Regions from separate parts of the Homo sapiens genome. Here regions 1, 2, 3 and 5 are each linked to region 4. The links are contacts of gene promoters, found by promoter capture Hi-C in blood cells and fetal thymus (Javierre and others, 2016). All regions are on one chromosome and are shown on one strand. Each heading gives the region's core, a stretch centred on a gene start or on the middle of the fragment in contact. The rest is flanking DNA. Distances are from core to core; before and after follow the strand shown. Region 1 has its middle 17 kb from the start of OR4K17. Region 2 has its middle 19 kb from the start of OR4K14. Region 3 holds the start of OR4K17 (olfactory receptor family 4 subfamily K member 17). Region 4 holds the start of OR4L1 (olfactory receptor family 4 subfamily L member 1). Region 5 overlaps OR4K14 (olfactory receptor family 4 subfamily K member 14).

Region 1 (2,700 bases), core at 63-2,562, 33 kb after region 4:
TTTCTCTTCTGGTGCTCCAGAACTAGAATGTGGTATAAATATGTTCATTTGCATCTGTGTACGTCTCTTTTCTCTCTCTCTCTCTCCCCCTCTCTCTATGTGTGTGTGTGTATGTATGTGATGTTTACTAATAATTGTCATAAAAATAAAAGAGAAGGAAAAGGAAGCTAGGATTAAATTTCTGAATCAAATCTAAACGGAAGATATTAGGTTGGTGCAAAACCGCAATTACTTTTGCACCAACCTAGTGGAAGTGAGCCGAAAGTGTCAGCTCAATGTGGGAAGACATATAGAATACAAGTGTCAAGGATGTAAGAGCCAGTAAAATAGTCAGGAGGCAGTTTGCATGTGTGTGAAATATCAGAGGAAAGCACTGGGTACAGGAAGATATGCATTTAAAAGCCAAGGAAACACAAACATAAAGGATTGTTGGTTGCTCAGAGACTGTCTACAAAACACAGATTGCAAAGGGACAAGAAAGAAAGCACTCCAGCCAGGAGCCCAACAACATGAGATTCAGGAAAATAAGCAAGAGGTCTGCACAGTAATGGTAGGAGTTTTGTACAGTAACCAAATTATGACACAAAATACTACACTAAAAGAAAAAAAAATACATCTGGACCCTGGGAAACATTTTTGATTTTATCTAGAAACTTTCTAGAAAGTTAACATTTTAAAATAATTATAAAAGCATGGGGTGAACAGTAAGAACATATGCCAGACTGCAGCCAGCTTAAAGCTTCAGAAATAAGTGAAATCATTGGTATATCATTTGGGGATAAAAGAGAGAGGTAAGAGTATAGTATAGCAGATAGAAGAAAGTGCCATAAAATAATGTGTTAAACTGGGTGTATTAGTAAACTCACTTGCACATGTATGAATGCTTCAAATTAGAGAGAGGGAAAAGAATGAATACTAGGCACCAAAAAGCTAAGCAACTTTGCTCTTATCCACTCTTGGACTAACTCATTTGGCTAATAGTTATTTGACTAATTTTACTCATGGACCTATTGAACTCATGCATCAAGAACTCATGAACTCATCATAGAGACAATAAATGCACGTGGAGACAAAAATCTATGTCTGCAAACCATAATTACAGAATTTTATAATATATTTCTCATCTTTTGTGCCTTTCTGATTGAAGAAAATACAATAATGTCAATGACACTTGAATTAATTAAATTGTATTTTTCATATATGTTCATCTTCTCTCTTTCTGTAGGAATCAAATACTTTCTATATGTCCATATCTTCAAAATGGTCACAGGTAAAATTATAACTTTTTTCAGACTATCTTTATTTCAAATAGCTTTTGAAAACTACCAGATGGATATAAGAAACAGCTCAATAATAATCTGAGTTTGTTTTGTTAGAATTCATCAGCACTTGGGAACTTGAAATTTTGTTTCTTAAATATTTTTGTTGGCCTATGCAGCAATCATGGCAGGAAACCTCACTGCAATCGCTGTAACCTCCAATCCTCCCCTTTGCTCAACACCTATGTACTTCCTCCTTGGAAATCTCTCCTTTCTCAGTATGTTTATTTCCACAGTCACAATCTCTAAGATGGTCCAGACGTTCTCAGGGAGAATAAAACCACTTCCTCATGGGGCTGTATGGCTCAGATCTCCACTTCTTAGGAGGCAGTGAGATGACTCTTCTCATATTTATGGCTGTTGATCAGCACATTGCAATATGCAGACCTCTTCACTGCAGAACCATCACGAACTGCAGGGTACTCATGGCCACTCATGGGCTCTGTGCTGCTATCACGGGCTGTTGGTTTTGTGCATACTATAAGCCAGATTGTTTTTATTATCACCTTGCCCTTCTGTGGCCCCAGTGTGGTGGACAATTTATTTTGAGACCTTCCTCTAGTTCTGAAGCTTGCCTGCACTGAGACTTATGATCTGGAGTTGCTGGTAATTGCTAAAAGTGGACAGTTGTCTTTCATCTGCTTCATAGTCTTGCTCATTTTCTACACTATTATTCTGGTAACTGTGCAGCATCGATCCTCTGATGCACTCTCCAAGGCTCTGTCCACACTGTCTGCTCATATCACTGCAGTCACTCTATTTTTATGAGCCATGTGTCTACATTTACACTTGGCCATTTAGGAGCTTTTCAGTGGATACATTTCTTTCTGTGTTTTATTCAGTTACACCCTTACTGAACCCCATTACTTACAGTCTGAGATGAAAGCATCTATACATCAACTGAGGACCCAACACATCATCTCCAGACAAACCTTCTCTAATCAGCAATCATGAGGACAGGATATTAGTTCAGAACCCATATAAATTACGTTTCAGAATATGTTGATATTAATTTTATTTGTTGATTTCTATAAATAATATTGCATATATTGAAATTATCAAATATAATTTTTCATTATTATATTTCTATGGCATGTGTGGTTTTGTTGAAAATATAATTATCAGCCTGGGAACTCCATTACTGGGTATATACCCAAAGGAATATAAGCCATTCTATTATAAAGATACATGCATGCATATGTTCATTGCAGCACTATTGACAATAACAAAGACATGGAGTCAACCTAATTTCCCATCAATGAGAGACTGGGATTTAAAAAATGTGGTATATATACACCATAGGATACTATAGAGCCATAAAAAAGCAATGAGATCATGTCCTTTGTAAGGACATGGATGGAGATGGAGGCCATTATCCTTA
Region 2 (2,700 bases), core at 85-2,584, 60 kb before region 4:
GAAAATAGCATCACATACATGGCTCATGGAAGTATACATTACTACAGTTTTTTGGGGGAGAAATACCTGTCCACATTTGTCTCAGAAATTTTACTTTCAGCCTCTGTCTCTTACATATACTGAATAGCAGTCTGAAGAAATATGAACAAATTGTTCACTGTAGAATCTTTTATTATAATGATAAAATAGATGATCTACAACCCCATTGATAGAATATTTTATTATAACATACCATATTTGATGGTTTTATTATCATATATCAGTTAAAAATAATTAGAACTATAGCCAGGAGTGGTGGCATGGGCCTGTAATCCCAGCTACTCAGGAGGCTGAGGCAGGAGAATTGCTTGAACCTGGGAGGTGGAGGTTGCAGTGAGCCAAGATGGGGCCACTGCACTCCAGCCTGGGGGACAGAGAAAGACTCCATCTAAAAAAAATTAGTAATAATAATTAGAGCTGAATATAGCACACGAAATCACATCCACGGTATATTACTGTATTGAGGAAAGCCTTTCTCGCTCTTTCTCTTCCCTCTCTTCCCCTCTCAGTGGTATAGAGGCAGAAAAAGAACAAAGTGGAAACTTTTATATTTACTTAAGACATTTTTGTAATATTAAACAAAATTAAATTAAATCTAACGTCAATAATTCTGATTAGAAAAGGTACTCCAGATAAAGCAGTACAAGCAAAGGTGTACTGGTAGAAGAAATGCAAGGCCCTTCAAGCCAAATTTTCCTTAATGTTTCATCACCCTTTCCACTAACCTCAGCCATGTGGGCCAGGGGGACCCTTACCTCTCTATAAAATCCAGCTGACATTATTACAACTCTCAGATCTTCTTTTCCTCTTCTATTAATTGCTTTCTACCCTCACATCCCATATATTTTTATGTTTCATAATTTCTGAAAAAGGATTGATTAAAAATTTTTAATGATTTCCTTTGTGATTTGACTGTGAGTAGCTGAATCTTGAAATCCCTAAACATCAAAATTTCGTAATGGTGGCCAGTGTAACCAGGGGTTTTCATCTTAATTCATTAATTTTCTTGGTCTATAATATCTAGGATGGTTGTATACTGTTAATGTGCCAGGAGTCCATGACTGCAGGACCTAAGAATTTACAGACAAGAAGGTATGTAATTTGACTTAAAATCTATTATACTGACAGCCTTTCTTCATGCTCCTGTCATCAGGGCCTACCTGCAGAAGTAGTATTCAATGCTAATTGTGCTCTTTTTCAATATAATATTGTCTATGCAATGTTATATTGTGTAAATCAAACAATGCATTTTTAAAAGGTTTTAAGAGTATATGGCTAGCAAAATTAACAATCTTTGCTTCTGAGAATTGGGAAGATAATTATTTTCTTCATGTTTTTCATGATTCTGAAAGTGAGATTATTTGATGTTATATCTAGACAACTTTTACTCTCAAAACAAGTTAAATGGATTATAATTAAGAGAAATTATTACCTGAAATGTTAAGTAATAATTAAGTTGCAGAAAGAGAAAAAATCCATTTTTTGGATTTTTGTATATAAGAATAAAATGTCATAAACCCTACAGATATGCATAGGAACTCTCAGTAGGTAAGAAGAAAGTCTCAATTGTTAAGGTGAATTTTTATAAATATTTTATTGCCTTTACATGTAGTCTAGTGTCTTATATAATTTAACTTTTCTGTATATATAGATTGTATCATATTTTAAGTATAGTTTTGTGTCCTGTTTTTTCTTTTATTATGTGACCATTTTCTAAAGTTAATAAATATTTTTTAAACACCAGTTCAACAAACTAATATTTAAATTTGGAAGTTTTACCTCATAGTGTCTTGATATTTTTAACTCTTACATATAATTGATGTAATCTTTATATTTACATCATTGCCTTAAATAAGGAATATGTAAATTTTATTATTTTTAAGCTAACTTTTGTTTAGTTTAAAATTATTTTTTTAATATTTTTATCCTCGTCGATTTGCCTAAATGAAAGTATACCGTTTATAGATTTAACAGTGGCATAAACTAAAATAAGGTGAATAAAATTCAATATTTAAACTATAAATTGCTATCTAACTATTATGTCTTAAGTCTTCAAAATGTTGCTCTGTGTATGGCACAACTTAACTATAGAATTTGAGTGAATAACAGCTATCACAAAACACCAAAAACACCCCTCCCCGCAGTTCTCCGTGGACCATCACCCATTTCAACTCATACAGTAGCATGTTCCAGCTATTGTTTATGTAAATGGAAAAAATATACACAACATACAAATTGCTATTTTTATCTCAGAGAAATAGTTGATTTTTATTTGATTTGATAGACTAGTCAAAGGAGAGTCATTTCAATGCATGAATAACCATTTTATAATTATATTTAGATCATTATAAGCATAATGTGTACCTATATGCCCACAGGTATGATTTAAGATAAGAAATATATCATTTACAATAATAAACTGGAAATAAGTGTATTATAGAATATGGTAAGCTGAAGAGGCATATCAAAGAAAATATACTAAGAGGTCATTGAACTAGCAATAATCCCAAGTGGAATGTGATCTTTCCTGTAGCTATGTGCACAGGTTAGAGTCCTACAAGAGTTTTCTTGATGGCAAAGGGTACAGGGATTCCCTTTTCTCAAATAAAAGCTCTACAGATCTAATGTCCATTTACTGGAATCTGAAATTCTACCTTTGAT
Region 3 (2,700 bases), core at 47-2,546, 50 kb after region 4:
CAACCCCATCAAAAAGTGGGCAAAGGACATGAACAGACACTTCTCAAAAGAAGACATTTATGCAGCCAAAAAACACATCAAAAAATGCTCACCATCACTGGCCATCAGAGAAATGCAAATCAAAACCATAACGAGATACCATCTCACACCAGTTAGAATGGCAATCATTAAAAAGTCAGGAAACTACAGGTGCTGGAGAGGATGTGGAGAAATAGGAACACTTTTACACTGTTGGTGGGACTGTAAGCTAGTTCAACCATTGTGGAAGTCAGTGTGGCGATTCCTCAGGGATATAGTACTAGAAATACATTTGACCCAGCCATCCCATTACGGGGTATATACCCAAAGGACTATAAATCATGCTGCTATAAAGACACATGCACACATATGTTTATTGTGGCACTATTCACAATAGCAAAGACTTGGAACCAACCCAAATGTCCAACAATGATAGACTGGATTAAGAAAATGTGACACATATGCACCATGGAATACTATGCAGCCAAAAAAAATGATGAGTTCATGTCCTTTGTAGGGACATGGATGAATTTGGAAATCATCATTCTCAGTAAACTATCACCAGGACAAAAAACCAAACACTGCATGTTCTCACTCATAGGTGGGAACTGAACAATGAGAACACATGGACACAGGAAGGGGAACATCACACTCTGGGGACTGTTGTGGGGTGGGGGGAGGGGGGAGGGATAGCATTAGGAGATATACCTAATGCTAAATGACGAATTGATGGGTGCAGCACACCAGCATGGCACATGTATACATATGTAACTAACCTGCACATTGTGCACATGTACCCTAAAACTTAAAGTATAATAATAATGAAATTAAAAATACAAAAAAACTTTACAAATTAAAAAAAAAGTTACAAAAACAATGCTTATAATAATTCAATTATCAATCAAATAATTCAACTGTATAAATAGTAATTATTATATTAATAAATAAATTTCTATTCATTCTATGTAAATACATAAGAAAGGAAGTATATTGTAAGTTTAACCCCATGCCTAGTATATAGGAAACTATGTATGAACTGGCTATTTTTATTATCACTAGTCTATAAGCTTCTGGGGGGCTAGGAGTGTGTTCCTGTATTTATAGCCCTATAATTAGCCAAATGCCTAACATATAGTGTAGCTCAACTATTGTTCCCTTTAAGAGATAGGCTATTAATTACTGAGCAAGTGAATGAAACTAATGAATGCTTGAAGCATCAGAGAAGTGGTTTGGCTTATATTTGCAATGTCATAATTAAGCTCCAAACCCGCACATGCCTTTCTTCATAAGGTTCATTGTCTGTTTCATTACACCTCTCTTATGCCCTTTCTACCTTTCTATAGGTTTACCCGTATATCTTCCTCTCCTCATTATAACCCACCTCAACCACTGCTTTTATATCACCTAGTGATAGAGGTGGCATTTATCTTACCAGAGGATAGTCCTAAGGGCCCACCTCAGCATCCTTTTCTCCCCTTGTGCCCCTACATTAAGCTTAATCTCATTACTTTACAACCAGGAATCAAAATTAAATGGTCCCACAGCCAGCTGAGACAAAATAAAGAAGAAAGCAGGACACTAGCTCCAAAACCTCTCCAATCACCCTAGTGAAATTAACTTCATCTGTCACATTTAAACTATCATTGATTACGTAATATACTCTGTGGCCCTGAAGCATTATTCCCTCAGCAGACAGAATCACCGTTAGAATCATCTATAGAGGATTCCCAGAGTTTTCCAGCACTTATTAGGCACTACCTAATTCTAAGAGAGACGGTATTAGGAACTCCCCTGATTGGAGTCTAGATACTTTAGTGACTTGTTTCTTCTATGGAACTATAAGTTGAGAAGGTGCATGCCCTTCTCGATATTGTCCCCTCTGAACCCATGGCCCTGACTTCTTCTGAACTGGTAAGCAGAAGACATTGCTGACATTATAAAGCCAATGTATTTGCCTGTCACAGTTCACACAAGATAGCAATTGTTAAATGAACTTGTTATAATCAGTCATGAAAAAGCATAGTCTCAGGTTTGAGAAAATGCTCAAGACATTCTGGAAAATGTACCAAAAAGAAAATTAAACTCAGACTTACGAAGACTAAATGAGATGATATATGTGAAGTTCCTAGTACAGAGTCCAGCAAACAGCAGAACCTCAATAAATGATTGAATTTATTATCATTTGGAAAATGACACTGAGGCTTAAGTATATGCTAGGAACTTTACCAGGTGTTAAGATGGCAAACTAAAATAGTTCACAAACTTGGGAGGAAGACAGAAGTATATATAAATAACTATATTATAGGTTATAAGGGTAGTACTATGAGGGTACAGAGGAGAGAATCATCGACTGAGTCAGTTTCTTAGGAAAGTTTCCACTGAGAATGTATTGATTTGGACATTAACAGTGAACAGAACGAGTCAGAAAACAAGAGTATTCATGATTTGGTTGTATGTATTTCTTCTTGGCATGGACTTACATTTCCTGAAACTATCTTTCTAGAGGCTCTTGCAGAGAGAACTAGGCTGCTCCTAAATTAAAGTCATTAAAATGACCACATCTCAAAAACCCTTGCTAATTTAAGAGCATGTAAGCATTTTTATCCCCAGTCATCAGCTCTATTTGGAGTTTTGCTTTGGTGTTATTGTCGTTAATTAGGCTTCTACAATTTCCAGGAAAGA
Region 4 (2,855 bases), core at 304-2,803:
CTAATTGTTTGGTGCAAGAGGACTAGCTTTCAGCCTGTCTCAGCTTTAGACATACTTTCCTCACTAAGCTTAATCACTTCTGGCTTAAAAAACTTTTTTACAGACTTTATTGTTTGGGGCAGTTTTAAGTTCACAGCAAAATTGAGCAGGAAGTACAAGAGTTCCCGTGTGCCCTCTGATGCCACATACAGTCTCCCCCACCCTTAACAACCTGAACCAGAGTGGTACATTCGTTACCGCTGGTGAGCCTACATTGCACATTATTATCTCCCCAAATTTGTAGTTTACATTAGGATTTACTCTTGATGTTATACATGCTATGGGTTTTGACAAATGTGTTATGTATTTCTAAGTATAGTAGATAAGAATTGTTTCAATACCCTGCAAATTCTCCGTACTTCTCTTATTTCTTCATTTCTCCTTCTTCATTCAAACCCCTGGAAACCACTGAACGTTTAACTGTCTCCAGTTTTTTCTTAGTTTATTTCAAATAAAAGACATGCAACTTTTCCTTTTACTTGAACACTTAGAGGCTATTGCAAAGCTATTAATTGGCCTAAATCCAATATTGTTGTATCTCAAAGAATAGAGAGGCCTGAAGAGAAGGAGAGAGATGAGGGAAGAGTAGGTTGGTGGAGCCGTTAGAAACAACATTTATCAATTGTCTGCCATTCTACATGGGCACGGCTTGTGGTGCCCAAAAATAATGAAAATAGTAACATAAAAGATTACTGGTCACAGATCAAATAACGTGTAATAATAATAATAAAGTTTGAAATAAATATTTTGGGAATTACCAAAATGTGACACAGAGACATAAAGTGAGCACATGCTGTTGGAAAAATGGTGCCAATAGACTTGCTGGATCCAGGGTTGTCACAAACCCTCAGTTTATAAAACATTAAATAACTGCAAAGGACAATAAAGTGAAACACAATAAAAGAGGTATACATGTATATTAAAAAGAAAAATTATTTTAAATAAATTTATATACTTTCATCCATGTATAATTTGCTCCTGATTTGTGTGTGTGTGTGTGTGTGCTTTTTGTTTGTTTGTTTGCTTATTTAGTTTAGAACCATAGAAAAACCTTCATAAATTACTTCAGAGATGTAGAACAATGTAATTCTTCATTTTCTAAATCTTGTATTCCTTATATATTGGGATAACATAATCTCAAGAAGTGCAGGTACAGAATACTATAATAATAAAAGGCAAAATAAAAAGTAATTAATTAGTATCTAATCTTTATATGTGAACAAATGAGTAAGAAAGTCAAGATCCATTGATAAGAGTATGATTTTATGGAATAAACAATAGAAAATGGAACTTCTACTTCTTCAAATGATTTGTAATTACTGCAGAGTAATTGTTTCAAAGTGATATAATATTTAAGCTAATCTCTGTGTTGATATATTTAAAATTATATGATCTCATATCATCAACTATTATCACCAACTAATAGAAATAAGAAAATATTGGTGTTAACTGTGACTTATTTTTTAATTCTCTTTGTATATAAAGAACTTCTGGAACCTTTCTGAGTTGAGTAAATGGATCTTAAAAATGGATCTCTAGTGACCGAGTTTATTTTACTAGGATTTTTTGGACGATGGGAACTTCAAATTTTCTTCTTTGTGACATTTTCCCTGATCTACGGTGCTACTGTGATGGGAAACATTCTCATTATGGTCACAGTGACATGTAGGTCAACCCTTCATTCTCCCTTGTACTTTCTCCTTGGAAATCTCTCTTTTTTGGACATGTGTCTCTCCACTGCCACAACACCCAAGATGATCATAGATTTGCTCACTGACCACAAGACCATCTCTGTGTGGGGCTGCGTGACCCAGATGTTCTTCATGCACTTCTTTGGGGGTGCTGAGATGACTCTTCTGATAATCATGGCCTTTGACAGGTATGTAGCCATATGTAAACCCCTGCACTATAGGACAATCATGAGCCACAAGCTGCTAAAGGGGTTTGCGATACTTTCATGGATAATTGGTTTTTTACACTCCATAAGCCAGATAGTTTTAACAATGAACTTGCCTTTCTGTGGCCACAATGTCATAAACAACATATTTTGTGATCTTCCCCTTGTGATCAAGCTTGCTTGCATTGAAACATACACCCTGGAATTATTTGTCATTGCTGACAGCGGGCTGCTCTCTTTCACCTGTTTCATCCTCTTGCTTGTTTCTTACATTGTCATCCTGGTCAGTGTACCAAAAAAATCATCACATGGGCTCTCCAAGGCGCTGTCCACATTGTCTGCCCACATCATTGTGGTCACTCTGTTCTTTGGACCTTGTATTTTTATCTATGTTTGGCCATTCAGTAGTTTGGCAAGCAATAAAACTCTTGCCGTATTTTATACAGTTATCACACCCTTACTGAATCCGAGTATTTATACCCTGAGAAATAAGAAAATGCAAGAGGCCATAAGAAAATTACGGTTCCAATATGTTAGTTCTGCACAGAATTTCTAGATGTTAGCACTATATAATTAACTTTTAAATGCTACGATAAGATAGTTTGAATAGATTATGTATAATGCATCATTTCACTTTTCTTATGTTATAATAATAACGCATAAAGACAATACTAAATTACTTTAAATTTTACATTTAAGACTTTTATAAACATAAGGATAGAGATCTGCAGCAAAATAGACATAAAAATAGACATAAATAAACATAAAAAGATTATTGAGGATTTTTATCATATACATTCAATATATTCATTAATAAAGAAACAACTGTAAATGAATACATGAAGATATGAATATTATTAGAGGTTATTTTAATATATATTGATAATGTTATTCATAAATTTATACTATTATTAAATGA
Region 5 (2,790 bases), core at 22-2,521, 43 kb before region 4:
AAGTGATACTCTAAAATATAGACTGTTATATACTAACAAGCATGTATATTTGCCTTTTTCAAACTTCAGTGATTCCTGAGGGGCAGTTAGACATTCTGGAAGACTTCTGCATAGGTGAGAGTTGTAGGAACTTTTTTTTTCCTTCTTTCCATGGCCTTTGTCCATATAAAAACATGGATCAATCAAGTGCAGTAGGTGAACCAAAATTCCTTAGGAGGATTGAGAATATGAAGATTTTTTCAGGGATTCTATCTTCTCACCATCTCTGTCGATATCATTGCCCAATGGGTAATTAATTATTGTTAAGCACTAAATATTGAAATTAAAGCTTCACTTAAAAATAATGTCAACACGTAAGACATGGGAAACTGAATGTACATTATTAAGTGTCTCTTCCTCTTCCTCTCTCTCCATTTACACACACAAACACAAAACTAAACCTAGCAAAGGCATGTTGATAGGTAGATGTATCTATGTATATAAATATGATTAACGTGTCTTTCTCCTGAATCCAAGAGAAGGAAATTTTGTTCCTCAATGACAAAATTTAAAGGAGAAAAATTACTTTAAGCTAAAACGCATGTTTTGGATATAACGACTATGGGCGGGGGGTGATGTATAAATACAGATGAGCTCCCAAATCATGTACCCAACTTATGTATGTTGCTTAGTAATTTTATAAAAGTCTCATTTATTGTGTTATATGTGGGTTGTAGAATGGCTTTTCTGATATTCTCAGATAATATCTCTGAGGAAAATTTGATCTAAATAATGGCTCGTTTACATAAAGTTTTAATCTAAAGTGTTAATCTGTGCTATCAGGGAGGACAGCCTATAATTGCAAAACGTGGGACTCTTTCCTCTTTCTTGCCCTTCATCAATAACCTGGATATGTATAATTTGCAAGTTTACAGATAGCACAAATCTGACACGATTTACTTACAGACTTATAGAATATTTCAATATGCTGGAAATATGGGCCGTAATCAGCAAACTAGAGAGAAAAGGTGAAAGGAGGAAGAGAGAAGAGTGTAGACTGATAATCAGCCTAACAGAGACATAGAGTATTATATTATTAATATATTTCTTCATAATCACGCTTTTAATTTGTTGTAATTATAATTCATTTTTTCTTAAAAAATGAATAAAAATATTTATGGTAAAATGTGTTGTAATGCTTTTGATTAAATGAGCGAAAAAGTAGATCTTCTTCAAGGCATTTGCATCTTATTTTCCAGTTAAATTTCAACTCAAGAAATTGCTTCCTATAGAGCCATAATGTTGAGATTTCTTCCATATTTAATCTGCTTGGAATATTTCCTTTTTTTTCCCAACCACTTTATTAAGGTACAATTTATATAATATAAAATCATCTATTTAAAATATTTAGTCAATCATTTTTTAATTATTTTACCAACTTGGTTATCTCCATAATACTTCCTTTGGAATTTTGAAAATCTCAGTCCCTTCCAGGACCTCTCTTGGCAGTAGTCAGGCTATCTTCTTCCTTATTCATTTACTCACTTACACACTCACTCATTCAGACTGTATCTATAAGACACTAACACAGTTCTTCATCTCACTTTATTTGGTATAAAAACCAATCAATACAAGAAGAAATAAATCACTTAACCTAGGTTTTATTTAGTTTCTTCACCCCACAGATTTTTATTTTTGCTCTTATCATTTTTAAATTAATTGTATTTGGGATAAAAAGCCTATTTGATTAGATACATAAATCTATCTATAAATGAATTAGATCATTTATAGATTTATTATTTATAAACTTTCTCCGAGATGATTTAGAATGACTTTCTTTTAAAAATATTTTAAATTATTATGTGGAAGCTGAGCAAAATAAACTGATGGAGATAGTATAAAAATGGTTACTAGACAATGGGAAGGGTAGTGGGGAGAGTGGGAAAATAAAGGGAGGATGATTAATGAGTAAGAAAATGCAGTTAGGATGACTTTCACTGAAAAAGATATTTCCAAGACCTCTCAACAAAGACCAGAGCATAAAACCTATGCAATCATTTTTGAGGGTGTTTTCACCATTACACATGATTGACTAATAAGTTCATCACGTTATTTTAAAACGTAGCTCTGAGTTTTCAGATGAAATGGAACAGGATGCATAGGTCCCATAATTAGTTTTTTTTATGAGCAATAAACTGGAGTCTCACTCTCCTCACTGAGAGGAAAATATTGTATAAAGCTTTTAATAAGGGGTATCACATAGAATCCTTCATGAGAAATTACAAAAAAGATGCAGGACTCTCCTTCATTTAATGTTGTTCCTTTATAAAATTGAAGAATGTAACATAAAAGAAGAGTCTTGTAAGGCTTCTACAGGGAAATAAAGTAACTTATTCTAGTTGTGAAATAGTCTAATAATGAGAATTTGATATAGTAATAGATTTTTAGAATCTAAAGGGATTAATAATTACCATATCTTCTTTAGTCCACCCAAATAGCACCCATCTCAACCAGACTGTTGTCAAGATAATGAAAATTCAAAATTGCTTTGCTTCTCCTTGAATTTCTATAAAAACATTACATTAAATCATTTAATTGCAACACTTTTTTTGACAATTAGATGCTACCCATCTTTAGTCTGAAATTTTAAGTCTGAAGCCAAAATCCCCAACGGGTAGAAGGGACATAATCACAAAGCAATAATTCTTAGGAAGTTTAGTCAGATTCCTCTGACACCCATTCTAGCACATATATCACAGGTCATAGAGCTATACTTTTATTGATATTCTTTTCCTTTTTATGTCCCTGAAA

Evidence for each region. The method cuts DNA at HindIII sites, captures the fragments that hold promoters and counts their contacts. A CHiCAGO score of 5 or more calls a contact.
Region 1: a contact is called between a fragment that was not itself captured here and the fragment with the promoter of OR4L1 in region 4, in 6 of 17 cell types (fetal thymus, M2 macrophages, total B cells and 3 more). The highest score is 7.2, in fetal thymus.
Region 2: a fragment that was not itself captured here is called in contact with the fragment with the promoter of OR4L1 in region 4 in 3 of 17 cell types (neutrophils, M2 macrophages and total B cells); the score reaches 8.4 in neutrophils.
Region 3: a fragment that was not itself captured here is called in contact with the fragment with the promoter of OR4L1 in region 4 in 13 of 17 cell types (M2 macrophages, fetal thymus, M1 macrophages and 10 more); the score reaches 9.2 in M2 macrophages.
Region 5: a contact is called between a fragment that was not itself captured here and the fragment with the promoter of OR4L1 in region 4, in 2 of 17 cell types (neutrophils and fetal thymus). The highest score is 7.9, in neutrophils.

Annotation. Positions count from the first base shown.
Region 1 is chr14:20,092,015-20,094,714 of GRCh38, forward strand. It overlaps the pseudogene OR4T1P. Among named protein-coding and RNA genes, the nearest start is that of OR4K17, 17 kb to the right of the region's middle. The HindIII fragment of the contact is 1,150 bases long and covers 738-1,887 here.
Region 2 is chr14:19,999,057-20,001,756 of GRCh38, forward strand. No RefSeq gene overlaps it. Among named protein-coding and RNA genes, the nearest start is that of OR4K14, 19 kb to the right of the region's middle. The HindIII fragment of the contact is 4,026 bases long and covers 1-2,700 here.
Region 3 is chr14:20,108,964-20,111,663 of GRCh38, forward strand. It overlaps OR4K17 (olfactory receptor family 4 subfamily K member 17), which reads left to right and starts at 1,776. Exons shown (of 2, transcript NM_001004715.5): 1 at 1,776-1,929. The HindIII fragment of the contact is 427 bases long and covers 1,084-1,510 here.
Region 4 is chr14:20,058,492-20,061,346 of GRCh38, forward strand. OR4L1 (olfactory receptor family 4 subfamily L member 1) reads left to right here and starts at 1,554. Exons shown (of 1, transcript NM_001004717.1): 1 at 1,554-2,492. The coding sequence starts at 1,554. The coding sequence ends at 2,492. The HindIII fragment of the contact is 2,043 bases long and covers 67-2,109 here.
Region 5 is chr14:20,015,769-20,018,558 of GRCh38, forward strand. The region is part of intron 1 of OR4K14 (olfactory receptor family 4 subfamily K member 14); the gene reads right to left. Among named protein-coding and RNA genes, the nearest start is that of OR4K14, 2.1 kb to the right of the region's middle. The HindIII fragment of the contact is 1,890 bases long and covers 327-2,216 here.